Linked DNA regions of Homo sapiens: region 1 is linked to region 2. Evidence: promoter capture Hi-C in 16 types of primary human blood cells and fetal thymus (Javierre and others, 2016). All regions are on one chromosome and are shown on one strand. The core of a region is centred on a gene start or on the middle of the fragment in contact, and the rest is flanking DNA. Distances in the headings are between cores, read along the strand shown. Region 1 overlaps LINC00229 (long intergenic non-protein coding RNA 229). Region 2 holds the start of SHISAL1 (shisa like 1).

Region 1 (6,608 bases), core at 2,231-4,730, 300 kb before region 2:
GGTGGGCTGCTGGCGCTACTGCGTAGAGGCCAGAGGCGTGGTTGGGGCCTGCGATGCACAGGTCAGGCCCCACCACAGGGAGTTACCTTGCACAAAATGTCAATGGCGCCCTGGCTTCCACATCATCCAGAGCAGCTGGAGCCCTTTGCTGGGGCAGCAGGGAGTTGATGGGGGGAGCGGGTTCAGGTTTCTAGAGTCTTCTTTGGGAAAATGAGCATGGGGTCGTCACGGTTAAAGCTCTGCAAACCAGACCTCTGGGTTCCTACTTGGCTTCAACATTTTCCTGCTGTGTAGACTTAGCCTGCCTGGGATTCTAGAACGAAATAACATGGACTAGGGGCTTAAACAAAGGATGTTCATCTCTCATAATTCTGTATGCTGGAAGCCCAACTTCGAGGGGCTGGTGGATTCAGGTCCTGGCAAGGGCTCTCTCCTTGGGTTTGCAGATGGCCACTGGGTCCTCACAAGGGAGAGGGAGAGAGAGGAGCATGAAGGGGAGGAGGAGGAAGAGGGCAGTTACAGTGTCTCTTCCTCTTCTTATAAGGCCACTAATCCCATCACAGGGGCCCCATCCTTATCTAAACCTAATCACATCCCAAACACTCCACCTCCATATACTGTACTATCACATTGGAGGTTAGCTTCTTCTTTTTTTTTTCTTTTTTTTTTTTGATAGAGTCTCACTCTTTTGCCCAGGCTGGAGTACAGTGGTGTAATCATGGCTCACTGCAGCCTCAACCTCCTGGGCTCAAGCAATCCTCCTACCTCAGCCTCCTGGGTGGCTGGGACCACAGGCATGCACCACTACACTGGCTAAGGTTTTAAAACATTTTTTGTACAGAAAAGGTTTGGCCATGTTGCCCAGGCTGGTCTTAAACTCCTGGGTTTAAGGGCTCCTCCTGCCTTGGCCTCCCAATGTGCTTGGTTTGAAGGCATGAGCCACTGAACCTGGTCTCAAAGCTTCAACATATGAATTTGGGGGGACACATTCAGTCCATAACATGTGTGATCTTTTTTCAAAATTTATTTTTGCTATAAAAAATGTATGATAACATACATACACATCTATACACCCTTGTGGCTGCCACCTGGCCAAGGTGTCCTTGTGTTCTCTCTCCCTCAGCACATTTCCTACCCTGGTGGTGCCACGGCTTCTGGCACTGCAGGTAGTTTTGTCTGTTCTTGAGCTTCACGTCCCCAGAATCATCCCAGCCAGAGCCATTTCTGTCTGAGTTCTTCTGTTTATCGTTATTCTCACAAGATCTGCCCATTTACAAAAAGGAGCAGTTGTTTGTTCCCTTTTTATTTGTATTATTCTATTGTATGAATATACCTAATTTACCATCCCTTCTCCTATTGATGGATATTGGGTTTGTTTTCAGTTTTTGTCTACTTTGAAAAAAGCTGTTATGAATTTTCTTTTCTTTTTTTTTGAGGTGGAGTCTCACTCTGTCACTCAGGCTGGAGTGCAGTGGCACGATCTTGGCCCACTGCAACCTCCGCCTCCTGGGTTCAAGCAATTCTCCTGCCTTAGCCTCCCGAGTAGCTGGGATACAGGCATGCTCTACCACGCCGAGCTAATTTTTGTATTTTTAGTAGAGATGGGGTTTCACCATGTTGGCCAGGCTGGTCTTGAACTCCCGACCTGAGGTGATCCACTCGCCTCAGCCTCCCAAAGTGCTGGGATTACAGGCATGAGCCACCATGCCTGACTGAATTTTATTTTATATGCCTTTGGTGGACACAAGATCTCATTACTTTTGGGTATATATTTAGGAGTGGAATTGCTGGGTCAAAGGGTTGGACTCAATGTAGCTTTCACAGGTGCTTTCAAACCTTTTTATAAAGTAGTTATTTGGTATCTTCAAAAAATTTTAAGTAGACTTTTTTAAAGAACATTTGTAGACTTACAAGTGAAATTAAGATGATAATACAGAGAGTTCCCACACACCCTGCCCCTAGTTCTCCTATTTTTAGCATCTTGCATCAGCATGGTACATTTGATGCGAGTATTAAACCAATGTTGCTAACATTCTCATTAACAAAAGCCCATATTTTATTCAGTTTTGTTCGTTTTTAACCTAACATCCTTTTTCTGATCCAAGATCCCACTCAGGATCCCACATGACATTTAGTTGTCATGTCCCATTAGGTTCCTCTGGGTGGTGACAGCCTTTTTTTTTTTTAATTTGCCATCTTTAAAGAAAATGTTAATTAAAAACATAGAGATAATTGTAGATGCACACACAGTTGTAAGAAGTAATAGGCCGGGTGCGGTGGCTCACACCTTTAATCCCAGCACTTTGGGAGGCTGGGGCAGGAGGATCATGAGATCAAGAGATTGAGATTATCCTGGCCAACACGGTGAAACCCTGTCTCTACTGAAAATACAAAAATTAGCTGGGCAAGGTGGCACACGGCCATAGTCCCAACTACTTGGGAGGCTGAGGCAGGAGAATCGCTTGAACCCAGGAGGTGGAGGTTGCAGTGAGCTGAGATCGCACCACTGCACTCCAGTGCAGGGTGAGACTCTGTCTCAAAAAAAAAAAAAAAAGTAATAGCAAGGAGGCCAGGTGCAGTGGCTCACACCTATAATCTCAGCAGTTTGGGAGGCTGAGGTGGGCAGATCACTTAAGGCCAGGAATTCAAGACCAGCCTGACCAACATGGTGAAACCCCGTCTCTACTAAAAATTAGCTGGTCATGGTGGTGCACCCCTGTAATCCCAGCTACTCAGGAGGCTTAGGCAGGAGAATCACTGGAACCCAGTGTGGAAAGTAAAAAGATTCCTCTTCAAAGTTTCCCTTCTTGTTAAAGAATAAATCATAAGTGTTAGAAATAATAGTTTCTTTTAAAGGCTAACTTCCTTCAAGCCTCCTTGCTTTGTGCTAATAACTGTTTGTTAAGCCCTATCCTAGGTAGCTTTTAGATATAAGGGAATGAGTGCATTCTATGTCCTTGTACTTTAACCAAGGTATTTGTTCTAGACATGCTCAGGCATGTCCCAGCTCACAGCTTATGCACCTTCTTTATTTGGAAATGTTATTACTTCTCTAAGTCTTTTCATAAGCAACTTCCTCTTTTCCTTTGTTCTCCCTTGACTTTACCTATTTAGGAAAGTTTTAAGTTATTAACCAGTCAGGTTTAGCTTAGATTGTGAGGTCCAGCTCCAGCCAATGGAGACAGGACACAGTAGCAGGGACAAACCGCATAAGGGATAAAAATTGCTTCCCTCCTTTGTTCAGGTGTGCTCTCGCCATTGCTGCATCTGTGAGGAGCACCCTTTCTGCAGAAAGCAAAGTTGCCTTGCTGAGAAAATTCTTTGTCTGAGCTCTAGTTGTTCTTTTTGGCACCAAGGAACAAGCATTTCTAAGGGAATAAGCATTTTACTTATAACCACCCAGGAGGCAGAGGTTGCAGTGAGCAGAGATGGCACCACTGCACTCCAGCCTGGGCAACAGAGCAAGACTCTGTCTCAAAAAAAAAAAAAAAGAAGAACAGGAAGGTGTCCTTTACACATTTTGCCCAGTTTCCTTCGATGGCAATATTTTGCAAAACTATAGTACAATAATAGTACAACCAGGAAATGGACACTGGGGCAATCCACCAATCCTATTCAGATTTCTCCAGTTTGCCTGTACTAGTGTGTATGTGTGTGTGCGTGGGTGTGTGTGTGTGTGAATTCTGTACAGCTTTATCATTTGTGCAGGTTCCTGTCTCCACCACCCCTGTCATGGTGTGGAAGAGCTCCATCACCATGAGAATCCTTGGAGTTGGAGTTACCTTTTTATGGCCACACCCACCCCTCTTCCACATCCCTAATCCCTGGCACCACCTATCTGTCCTCCAATTCTAAAGTTTTTTCATTACAAAAATGTATACACGGACTTGTGCTGCATCATACTTTTTGGGATTGCTTTTATTCACTCAGCCTAATTCCCTGGATTCCTCCAGCTTGCTGAGTGGATTAATAGTTCCTTTTTACTGCAGAGTACGGTCCCACGGCCTGGATGTTCCTGTTTCTTTCTTTCTTTCTTTTTTTGAGATGGAATTTCCCTCTTGTTGCCCAGGCTGGATTGCAATGGCATGATCTTGGCTCACTGCAACCTCTGCCTCCTGGGTTCAAGTGATTCTCCTGCCTCAGCCTCCCAAGTAGCTGGGATTACAGGCATGCGCCACCACGCCCAGCTAATTTTGTGTTTTTAGTAGAGACAGGGTTTATCCATGTTGGCCAGGCTGGTCTCGAACTCCTGACCTCAGGTGATCTGCCTGCCTTGGCCTCCCCAAGTGCTGGGATTACAGCCGTGAGCCACCGCGCCTGGCCTGGATGTTCCTGTTTAACCATTGGTGGATGAAGGACATCAGGGCTGTTTCCAGTTTTGGCTATGACAAGTCAAGCTGCTATGAACACTTGTGTACAGGTTTTTGTGCAGATGTTTTATTTCTTTAAGACGAGTGCCCAGGAATGCAATTGCTGGGTCACCCGGTAATTATATGTTTAGTTTTTTTTTTTTTTTTTTTGAGACGGAGTTTTGCTCTTGTTGCCCAGCTGGAGTGCAGTGGCACGATCTCAGCTCACTGCAACCTCTGCCTCTGGGGTTCAAACGATTCTCCTGCCTCAGCCTCCCGAGTAGCTGGGATTACAGGCACGCACCACCATGCCTGGCTAATTTTTTTGTATTTTCAGTAGACAGGGTTTCATCATGTTGGCCAGGCTGGTCTCAAACTCCCAAAGTGCTGGGATTACAGATGTGAGCCACCGCGCTCGGCCTATGTTTAGATTTTTTAAGAAATAGCCAAGCTGTTTTTCCAGTGTGTCTGTCCCAAGACATCCATAGCAGCAGCATATCATGATCCGGGTTCTTCACATCCTTGTGAGTGTCTGGTGTCATTATTTTTCATTTTAGCCATTCTGTTAGGTGTGTGGGAGAGGTGTGATATTGAGTTAGTTACTTCACTTCTCTGAGCTCTATGTCCTCATCATGGGCCGTCTGATACGGCTGTCAGAAATGCTGGTGAAGTAAACACGTGTAAAGAACTTGGAACGATGCCTGCTCTGTTAAGAGGGCTCCTAACACCTTAATAATTATGATCACATTGAACTATACGAAATTGCCAATGTGGGATCACTTTTGGCCCATAAAAACCCTGAGACTTGATACAGCTCCTCCTCATATTGTTATTAAGGATCAAATGCCTGCATGATTCAGAGTGCAGGGCAGACGTGTCCCTCCTGCCTCCGCACCAGCTGGGTGGGCTCCTTGGTCCTCACCTGCAGGGAGGGCTTTGGTGCCCGGTGAGCCACTGGGCTTCCCCAGCAAGCCACAGCTTGTCACCTGAGGTCAGGGCAGAGGAGGAGCTAGAAGATTCATCTGGTCACTGAGTAGAGTAGGCAGGGGGCGGGGGAGAAGAGTGGTTGGGCACTGTGCCAGTGGGTGGCTGGGTGATGGGCGTGGTGGGCAGGGCCTGGGCCAGCTCATACTGTGCCCATGGATGGCTGGGTGATGGACATGGTGGGCAGGGCCTGGACCAGCTCTCTTGAGTCCTGGGTTTTCCTACCTCTGATCTGGGGTGGGGCGTGGTGGCACCAGATCCTTCCTCTTTGAGCTCCACTGTTCCAGTGCCCACTGAGGGGCCGTCACGGGGTGATAGGGGTCGGGATGTGGTGGTACTCTGGACAGCTCCTAGGTGCTGGGCAGATGTGCAAGGGTTTCATTATTATGGACAAGCATTTGGAGAGCAGAGCCCAGCCTCCTGCAAGTGGGGATCTGTTCGGAGGGACAGCCTAAGACCCCCTCGGGGAAGGGCGCTGCCTGCAGAGCTACCAAGATGCTGGAAACCTTGGACTGGCCCGTGCATGAGGGTGATCTGCAGGGCCTGGCTGCTCTCTGCCGAGCCCTTAAGAAGGGATGGGGCCATGCCCAGGCATCTCTGTGTCCCCAGGGGCCCAAGGAAGGGGCTCCGTGAGGTTGGCCAAGCAGCCGAGTCATAAGAAGCTTCATTTATGGGGGACGGTGCTGCTTCCAGAACACACTCTCCTCCATCTCCTTAAGGGCAAACGACCTTATAAGGGAGTCCTGGCACCTTCCCAATTTTTCAGGCTCAAGAGAGGCTCCCTCAATGAGGCAAGCAGAGTCCCTGCCCAGAGCCCCCAACTCCACACCTCCCCAGGATGCAGGCCCAGGAGAGGCCCCCTCGATGAGGCGAGCAGAGTCCCTTCCCGGAGCCCCCCAACTCCACACCTCCCCAGGACGCAGGCCCAGGAGAGGCCACACCCTTGTTTCTCTCCTGCTTCCCCAGCATGGCCTCAAGAATGCGGGAAACAGTTCTGGAGACAGTCAGATGAGTGTCTCACTGGTATCTTCCCCTGCCCAAGGACCCCCGTACCCCACCTATCCCGCCCTCTCCAGGCTGAAGCCTCCAGGGCTGAAAGCCAGGCCACCGGTCTAGCACTTGGGGGGTCCAGGGGCCCCATCATACCCTCCCCTGCTGTCTTGTGGGGAACCAGGGTGGGAGCTGCCCTTGGAAGCAGTCCAGGAGAGGGGACACTCCCTCTGATTGTTATGCAAATTGCTGGGCTTCGCTGATTACCATACATGCATATTAATC
Region 2 (7,442 bases), core at 4,237-6,736:
CCCTGGCATTCTGCACTTGCCATCCCAGTCCCGATTGCTTTCCTGCTGACAAAGCACTTTCATAAATACTTTTTGATGTTACCTCTCCATTCCCCAGAAATTTGTGAGCCAACACTCCCCCAAAGCAACAGCACACTAATTAGACTTCCATAATACCATTTACCCAGATGTCGACCGATGCTACGCAGTTTAGCAGTTTTCTCCCCGTTATAAGGGATGTTCCTTTTTGGAAAGCAGGAGGCCTTCTCTTGAAGCCTGGTGCATGGCATCGGGCCTGCAGAGAGGACTCTCGGGATAGAGGCTTGTCTGCCCTGGACTTCCCCGCCCCCACGGTGGGCTCCTGGATGGGCTGGACTGGGTCGGGGGGCAGCCAGCCTGAATGTGGGGCCTTCCCCTGGAGGGGCTTCTCTCTGCCCCTCGGTCCCTGCTCCCTCTCAGGCCCCTTGGTGTCAGGAGGCTGCAGTGGCAGAGCCCAGCTCGGGAAGGTCAGAGGGCCCCGTGCTCAGCAGACAGGGCAGACATGTTCATTAGCCATCCTGTTGCTTCCAAAGTGCAAACTCAGTATCAGAACAGATCTCTAGTTTGGGGACGACTAAGCAGAGAAGGATTCAACAGAAAGTGGAGCCTGGTGCTTGCTATGCTGCGGGGGAGGACGGAGAGGACTTGGGGAGTCTGTGTCTGAAGCGGACACAGTTCTGGGTTCTAAGTCTGGTGTCAGGGGGTCTGCCCTCCTTGCCTTCCCCAACAATGCACCATCCAGTGGTTTATTCTTCCTGGGGGTTCGGCCCCCATGGGAACAGCCCACAGAGCAAGGCAGCAAACCTGAGACCAGAGACCACAGGGCCAGGGCAGCTGAGAAGTCCACCTGGCGGCACAGCAGGTTTGGGGTGTTGGGGCCACAGGCATGGAGGCAGATGAGGTGGGAGGAGGCTGTTGTCTGTTCACATCTGGGCCTAGGAAAGCTGATGGGGCCAGCAAGGGTTTGCAAGGGCTCAAGAAGGCAGCCGAGAGCCACTTCCTACCACCTTTGAAAGCACCTGTTTCCCTCGCTGTCCAGCCATTGCCGCCAGGGAGTCCTCCTGGGCGCGGACCGCCCCGAGTAAGGACAGGCCTGGCTTGCTGCGGGCCGGTGTGGCTGGCCGGGCCCTGCTCGTCGGTGCAGCAGCTGATCCATTCGAGAGGCACGTCCTTCCATCCTGGCCCGGCTCTCGGAGCTGAATCGCACCCGCCCAGCAGCTTCCATGCCAATTACACAGAGTGTGGGTGGGAGGCTCATTAACCCCCAGAAGTGGAACTGGTCCAGGGAGTGGTGAGGATGGACAGGGGCCCTCCAGCCGACGATGGGGGGTTAAGCGTGCCAGGTCAGGGGTTGGGGAGCTGGCTCAGCACCATCCCTGTGGTCTCCACTGCAGCTCTATTTGCATAATTTTGAAGTTGATTGGCCTAAAGGCAACTTCGCTTAATCACAGCTGACAAGTCTCTGGTTGAAACAGCAGCTGCTGCCAATTAGCCGCGTTGGTGCTTTGGTTTGTTATAACTCTCTAGGCAGCAACCCCCAGCTCCCCCTCCTGCCCGCCCCATAATCTGCTTCAGAAGGAAGTGGCAGGGCCAGGTAGCTGCCCAGAGAACCTGCCACATGCTCCAGCCCAGGTCTTCTCAGACTTGCAGGTGCTGGGGAATGGGTTAGCGCGCAGCCTCTGATTCAGCCGGAAGGGTGGCGCGAGAGCCTGCATTTCCAACAGCTCCCGGGAGATGCCAGGGTTGCTGGTTTGTGGGCTGTGCTTGGGGTAGCAATGATCTCACCCAGAAGTTTGCAAACTGGGGCTGCCTGTTTGTGTGAATAAAGTTTTATTGGAACACACCATCACTCATTCATGTAGGATTCTCTACAGCTCTTTTTTGTCTATAACTGCAGAGTGGACAAAGACTGGGTGGCTTGCAAAGCTGGCCCAGCAGCTCTTCCTTGAGTGGGCATCAGAACACCCTGGAAAGCTGGGAGAGATGCAAATCCTTTGCCCCCCCACCCCCCACCCTGGTTCTGATCCAACAGGTCTGTGCAGCCCTGGTGCAGCCACTTCCGGGGATCTCTCTGTTCATCCTGGCCTACCCTGGGTACCATTCCCATTAGATAGCTGGGGAAACTGAGGCTCAGAGTGGTCACTCACTTGTCCGAGGTCCCAAGCTAGTAAGATCTGGCCGATTCCCACCACATCCTGCATCCTTGACCCAGGTCCCTCTCCCCAGGGTGCACCACGTCCCAACTGGGTTCCCTGGCTTGGTCTGCTCCAAATCTGGATTCCACGTGGGGGCCTGCTATTTGTAACCTTGGGCAAGTCACAGAATGACATGTCCTGTTGCAGGAGCATGATGTGTGGGAGACCAGGTCTGTCACGGGCACTGCAGAGAGCACTTGGCCCCTGGGGGGTTATCATTGCCCTGCTCCACATCGATATGGGCGGTTTACACTGTGCAATGCCTCTCCCCTCCCTGCCCCGGACTGTGAATCCTTTGAGGGCCAGGATGGAGACCCATCCTGCCATTGCGGAATCACCTGAGGCCGGGGAACTGCTGCCTGTGAGCCTATGAAGGAGGCAGCAACTCCCCAGCAGTGGCTCAGGCAGGGCCCTGCGTGTTCTTCATCTCAGTCATCCTCCCCTTGACCTGGAGGGGCCAGGATGGAGGCATGGCACCATCCACAAAGGAAGAAACCAAGCCTCCTCGAGGCAGGTGACCCGCCAGGCAGGTAACAACAGCGTAAGAAGCAGCATTGGGATTCTGTGGCCCAGGTGACATGGGGCCACCAGCTCAGTTCCAAACATGGAAATATAGGAGGATGTTATATGGCCTGGTGTCCTCAGTTTATAGATGGGGAAACTGAGGCACAGAGAGTTTATAACTGGGAGGGTCTCAAAGGGACGAGGTGTATGTGGGCTCAGTAGGAGGAGGCTGGGAATTCACACCGATTCCCTACTGGAATTGGACAGTTCCGGCACCACACCCAGCAGCCTGGGACTGTGAACCGGAAAAAAACGCTCCTTTCTCAGGGACCCCCAGCCAGGCCAAAGCAGCTTCTGCAGTCCCCACCCAGGCCCCTGTGTGGGTCTCAGCTGCCCAGAGGGGTGGGCCTGTGTGCAATGGATGGGGGCTGGGGGGTACTGTAATCATTATTTTTCTTTACATATATTTTGAACCTTGATTTTCTATTCTATTTTCCAGACTCCAGGCCATGGAGTCAGGCCCATGTCTCTGCCTGCTTCCTGGTATTCGCCCTCGGCAGTCCTTGCCAAGACTTCTTTATTTACTTGTTTGTTTGTTAATAATATAAGAAACATCCTTGACCCATCCCTCAGCCTGAGAGCAGGAACGTCAGCCTGTGCGCTCCCAAGCAGGGCCCACTTCACCCCACGTCCCGCTGTATGCCTTGCTATAGCCAGATGCACTCTCAAAAAGAACATTTTATTTACAGTTCTTTTTAGCCTTCTAGAAAGCGTACTGTGCTGAACTTCATCTTTGGAGACTTTACTTTCTCTCTAGCCTCATAGCGCTGAGATGCCCCGTAATGTTCTGTGCGGCTGCAGTGCATTTGGGTAGCTGAAGAGTGTTCCGGTGTTTGGCCATAACACCATGCATTTTCCTATTCATCCACTGGGCCGTCTCCAGGGCTGTCTCCAGGTTTTTCCATAGCGCCGCTGTGAGCTTTCTAGAGCCTGGTCCCCTCGGCCGAGAGGGGATGTTGGTGCTTTTCCTCCCCCACAGTTGCTGAGGCAAAGACCCACTGTGCAAGAGGATGTGGTCACAGTGGCCTCCCTGAGGTGGGGTCACCTTCCCTCCAGGCAGCCCTCACCCCGGTCTGCCAGGCAGGTTGGTCTTTGTTGTGCTTCCAACCTCTGTCAAAGGTGAACTTTTAAAATTCCTGCCTCGTAGGGTGGATCGCAAGGAGTAAATGTCATTGGCGGACCCATACTTTTCTATGTCATAGGTGTTCCAGATCTGGTGCACAGGAGGTCTGCTTTGAACTATAACAAAATCCACAGGGCAGTCCAGGCTCAGAGAGACAGAGAAACATGCCCAGGATCACACAGCTGAGAAGCGGCAAGGGACTTGAACCCGTGTTCAAACCCCAAGCTCAGAGCCCTTTTGTTTCTCTGCTGCTATGCTGAGCCCCAGACAAGAGGCAGGAGGAACTTTGTGTGCCTTGTTCCCTCTGCCAGGAACACTCCCCCACCCCCACCCCCGCCCCACCGCCCGACTCATCCTTCAGGTGTCCACACCAGACCCCCTGGTCTGAGTCCCCAGCCAGGCGACCCAGGACGAGTTACTGAAACTCTGTACCTCAGTTTCCGCATCTGTAAATTGGGGATAATCACAGCCCCTCCTAATCATGAAGATTAAATAAATACCACCCCCACTCCCGGCCCCTACCCCGTCAGGCTGCATCAGGCACTCTGGGCGCCCATAGCCCCCTGGTTTCCCATCGTGGCACCCATCGCTCTGGGCTGCCATTGTTGGGACCGTGGTTAGATGAGGGGCACCCAGACCAGTCTGAACTCGCTCTCTGTCCACCGAAAGGAATGGAAAAAGGAGGTTTATTTCTGGCCTGGCTCAGGATGGGCAGGCTTCCAGGGATGGGTGGGAGGCAGAGGAGGGCTGGCCTCCTTTATGGCTGCGTTTAAATGCCACCCAGAAGCCAGCCAAGGGCGCCGCCAAGGTACCACGATGCACGAAGGCCCAGGGGTGGGAGACGGCCATGGGCTGGGGGGGTGCCTGGCACCCAGGAAGTGTGGCTGCAGAGGCCAGCCAGGCCCCTGGGCTGTGTCCAGACAGTCATGGAAGCCACTGATGTGTTTCGAACAGTGGCAGGTGTGGGCATCCCCCGCCCTGTTCCTGCCCCATCCCCACCCCATTCCTACTGGCAGGGAGGACCCTCTGCTGCTGGGTGGGGACAGGCCAGGGGTAGGGGGGCAACAGCAGGAAGATCAGCCCAGCTTGGAGTCAGGCAGGTGCCACACACCCTCTGTGGGCTCTCGGGTCCCAGCTACCCTTCCTCCCCGGGCTGGTGTGGGGACCGTTTGTTTTACCCACACCCCTCCCCGGGCCATGCTGGCCAGAGGGGCTTGTGCAGTGGTGCCACTGACCTCCATTGCCCAACAGAGACTGAGGGCCACGGGAGGGAACCCACATGTATTGTGCCAAGCATCTGCTGAGGTGCGGACCTGGAGCCCGGTGCCCTGGGTCTAAGCCCCTGCTGCTTCTAGCTGTGGGATCTCACAGGGAGTGTCTCTAGTTTGCTCACCTGTAAAATGGGGCTCTTGCTGGTGCTCTGAGGATGCACAAGGCTGTAAGACCAGAGGCTGGAGTGCGTGGGGACTGCGGGAGCAGCCGCTGCCATCCTGGGCCTGGGAGGTGGCGGCCCTAGGCCCAGGCGGGAGCTGGACTCCTGCAGGGCTGACTCAGCGCCCTAGCCCCACTCCCCGCCCTGAGGAGCACACTGAATTCTTGTCAGCACACAGAGGCCAGCCTGCGCTGGAAAACACTCTTTTGCCTATACAAGGCTCGACCAAGTTGCTCTCCTTTTATTGGGGTTTAAGGTTGGTGGCAACCAGGAGCCGGGGAAGAGGCCAGCAGCTGCAGGGAGACCGCAGCCAGCGGAGGGGGCTTCTGATCCCTCAGTCACAGGGCTCGGCAGGTAAGGAGCAGCCTGTGGAGGTTTCCAGGTCCTCACTGTGCAGGGGCACCTCTGTTCCTTCACGCTGACCCTGGGGTCCCTGCCCTGGCTAAGCACTGGGTCTAAGGGAGAAGCCAGGCAAGGCTGCTAAGTGACTCCTAGTCACAGAAGAATGGGAGGGGCCGGGGTGACGGCTATGCCAGTGGGGCAAGATGGGGAGCAGGCTCTGATCTAGAGGGGTGGGAGCCCTGTGGGGGTGCACAGATGCTGGTGCTACTACCTACCTGCTGTGTGACCTTGAGCAAGTTGCTGACCGTCTCTGTGCCTCAGTGTCCTTGTGTCAAGAGCCTTGCATAGAGAGGGGTTGGAGAGAAGGCCAAAGGCTCGGGGGAGGGTCCGGCATGGCCTAGGGAGTGCTCTCAGGATGCCCTAGTCATGGCCTGGAGGGCATTTGGTTGGCTTCACGGGGGTGAGGTGGGTCTGTTCGACCCACTTCAGAGTCTGCAGTCCCAGTCCAGCATCACACCGGTACGAAATAAGTGAATAGATGAATGAATGAATGAATGAACGAACAAATGAATGCATTGGCCCCTCCGAATACGCCTTCAAGGCAGGTTTGTTGTCCCCATTTACAGATTGGGAAACTGAGGCTTAGGGCTTTGGCTTCTCTTCACTCCAGTGAGGAAGGGGTTCTGGGGACCAGGGAGGCTGAGGGAGCTGAAGAGAAACCCAGAGCCACCCCCACCCCGAGGCGAGCGCCATGCCTGTCTTTCCTCTTCCTGCCCTGACACTTTAAGTGATTCATTCTTCATGTGATATTTTTGTGTTTCTCCAGTGGGAAAAAAATGCCTCTGGGATTTCCAGGGGTTGTTTTATCTCCATGGTGCAACCAAATAACTCAGGAGGACAGAGAGAAACAAAGGGTTGTTGAGCTGAAGAAGGCCCATGATTGTCTCGGCCAAGCTCTCCCTTTAATAGGGGAGGAAACTGAGTCTGGCCTGAGCCCCTCGCCCTGTGACCCAGTGTGGCCCCCTGGAGGACAGTGGGGCATCTAGGGCCTTCAGCAGGGTTGGGGTTTCCAGCTAAGCCCCTTTCAGCTGTGTGTTCTCGCTCAAGTCCCCCTTTCCCCAGGCCTCAGCTTCCTCATCTGTAAAATGGGATCACAGTGGTGCCTACTTCCAACATTCGAGACAGTAGCACATGCAGAGAACTTTGATGGGTGCAGAACTGGCCCAGGCCAGGGGCTCAAAAGGGGGAACCATTGAAACAGCTGAGTTTGTAACTTGGACTCAGAGCCCAGCTGGCTGGGGCATGGTGGATTCAGCAGGGAAAGGTGTCAGTGAGGGACAAGAGCCTTATTAGGGATACACTGGAATGGTTATCCACTGAGGGAGGGATCTGGGGAGATAGGAGAGGTTTCCACGTTGGAGGTCACCTGCGTGCCTTCCCAATTCCAGCACCCAGGCCAGCACCCTTCGTGGCAGTGTGCTTCTCCTCGTGGCCCTGACCCTGAGAGCAGCCCCATGGAGCAAGTGGTATGCCCGCCTGGTAGGGAGACAGTGAGGGCCCAGGGGGTGTGAGCCGGCCCACCTCAGCTCCCCTGGACTTAGGGGGACCTGTCCCACTGGAGCCCTGGAGTTGGGTTTCTAGGCTAAAATAAGGGACTTCCACCCAGGGCTGATGGCCCAAGGTCACTCCCGGTGGTGGCCGTAAAAGTTGAGGCCATGTCTCAGTTGAAGGAGATCTCCTGCCTGGATCTCTGCTGTTCCCATCTGGA

The links. The method cuts DNA at HindIII sites, captures the fragments that hold promoters and counts their contacts. A CHiCAGO score of 5 or more calls a contact.
Region 1: a contact is called between a fragment that was not itself captured here and the fragment with the promoter of SHISAL1 in region 2, in 1 of 17 cell types (total CD8 T cells). The highest score is 5.3, in total CD8 T cells.

The regions. Positions count from the first base shown.
Region 1 is chr22:44,608,773-44,615,380 of GRCh38, reverse strand. The region is part of intron 3 of LINC00229 (long intergenic non-protein coding RNA 229); the gene reads left to right. Among named protein-coding and RNA genes, the nearest start is that of LINC00229, 13 kb to the left of the region's middle. The HindIII fragment of the contact is 5,035 bases long and covers 963-5,997 here.
Region 2 is chr22:44,310,995-44,318,436 of GRCh38, reverse strand. SHISAL1 (shisa like 1) reads left to right here and starts at 5,486. Exons shown (of 5, transcript NM_001099294.2): 1 at 5,486-5,686. LOC101927499 (a long non-coding RNA gene) reads right to left here and starts at 5,426. Exons shown (of 2, transcript XR_244444.3): 1 at 5,294-5,426; 2 at 3,438-4,016. RefSeq lists enhancers at 625-1,124, 1,125-1,626. The HindIII fragment of the contact is 15,394 bases long and covers 1-7,442 here.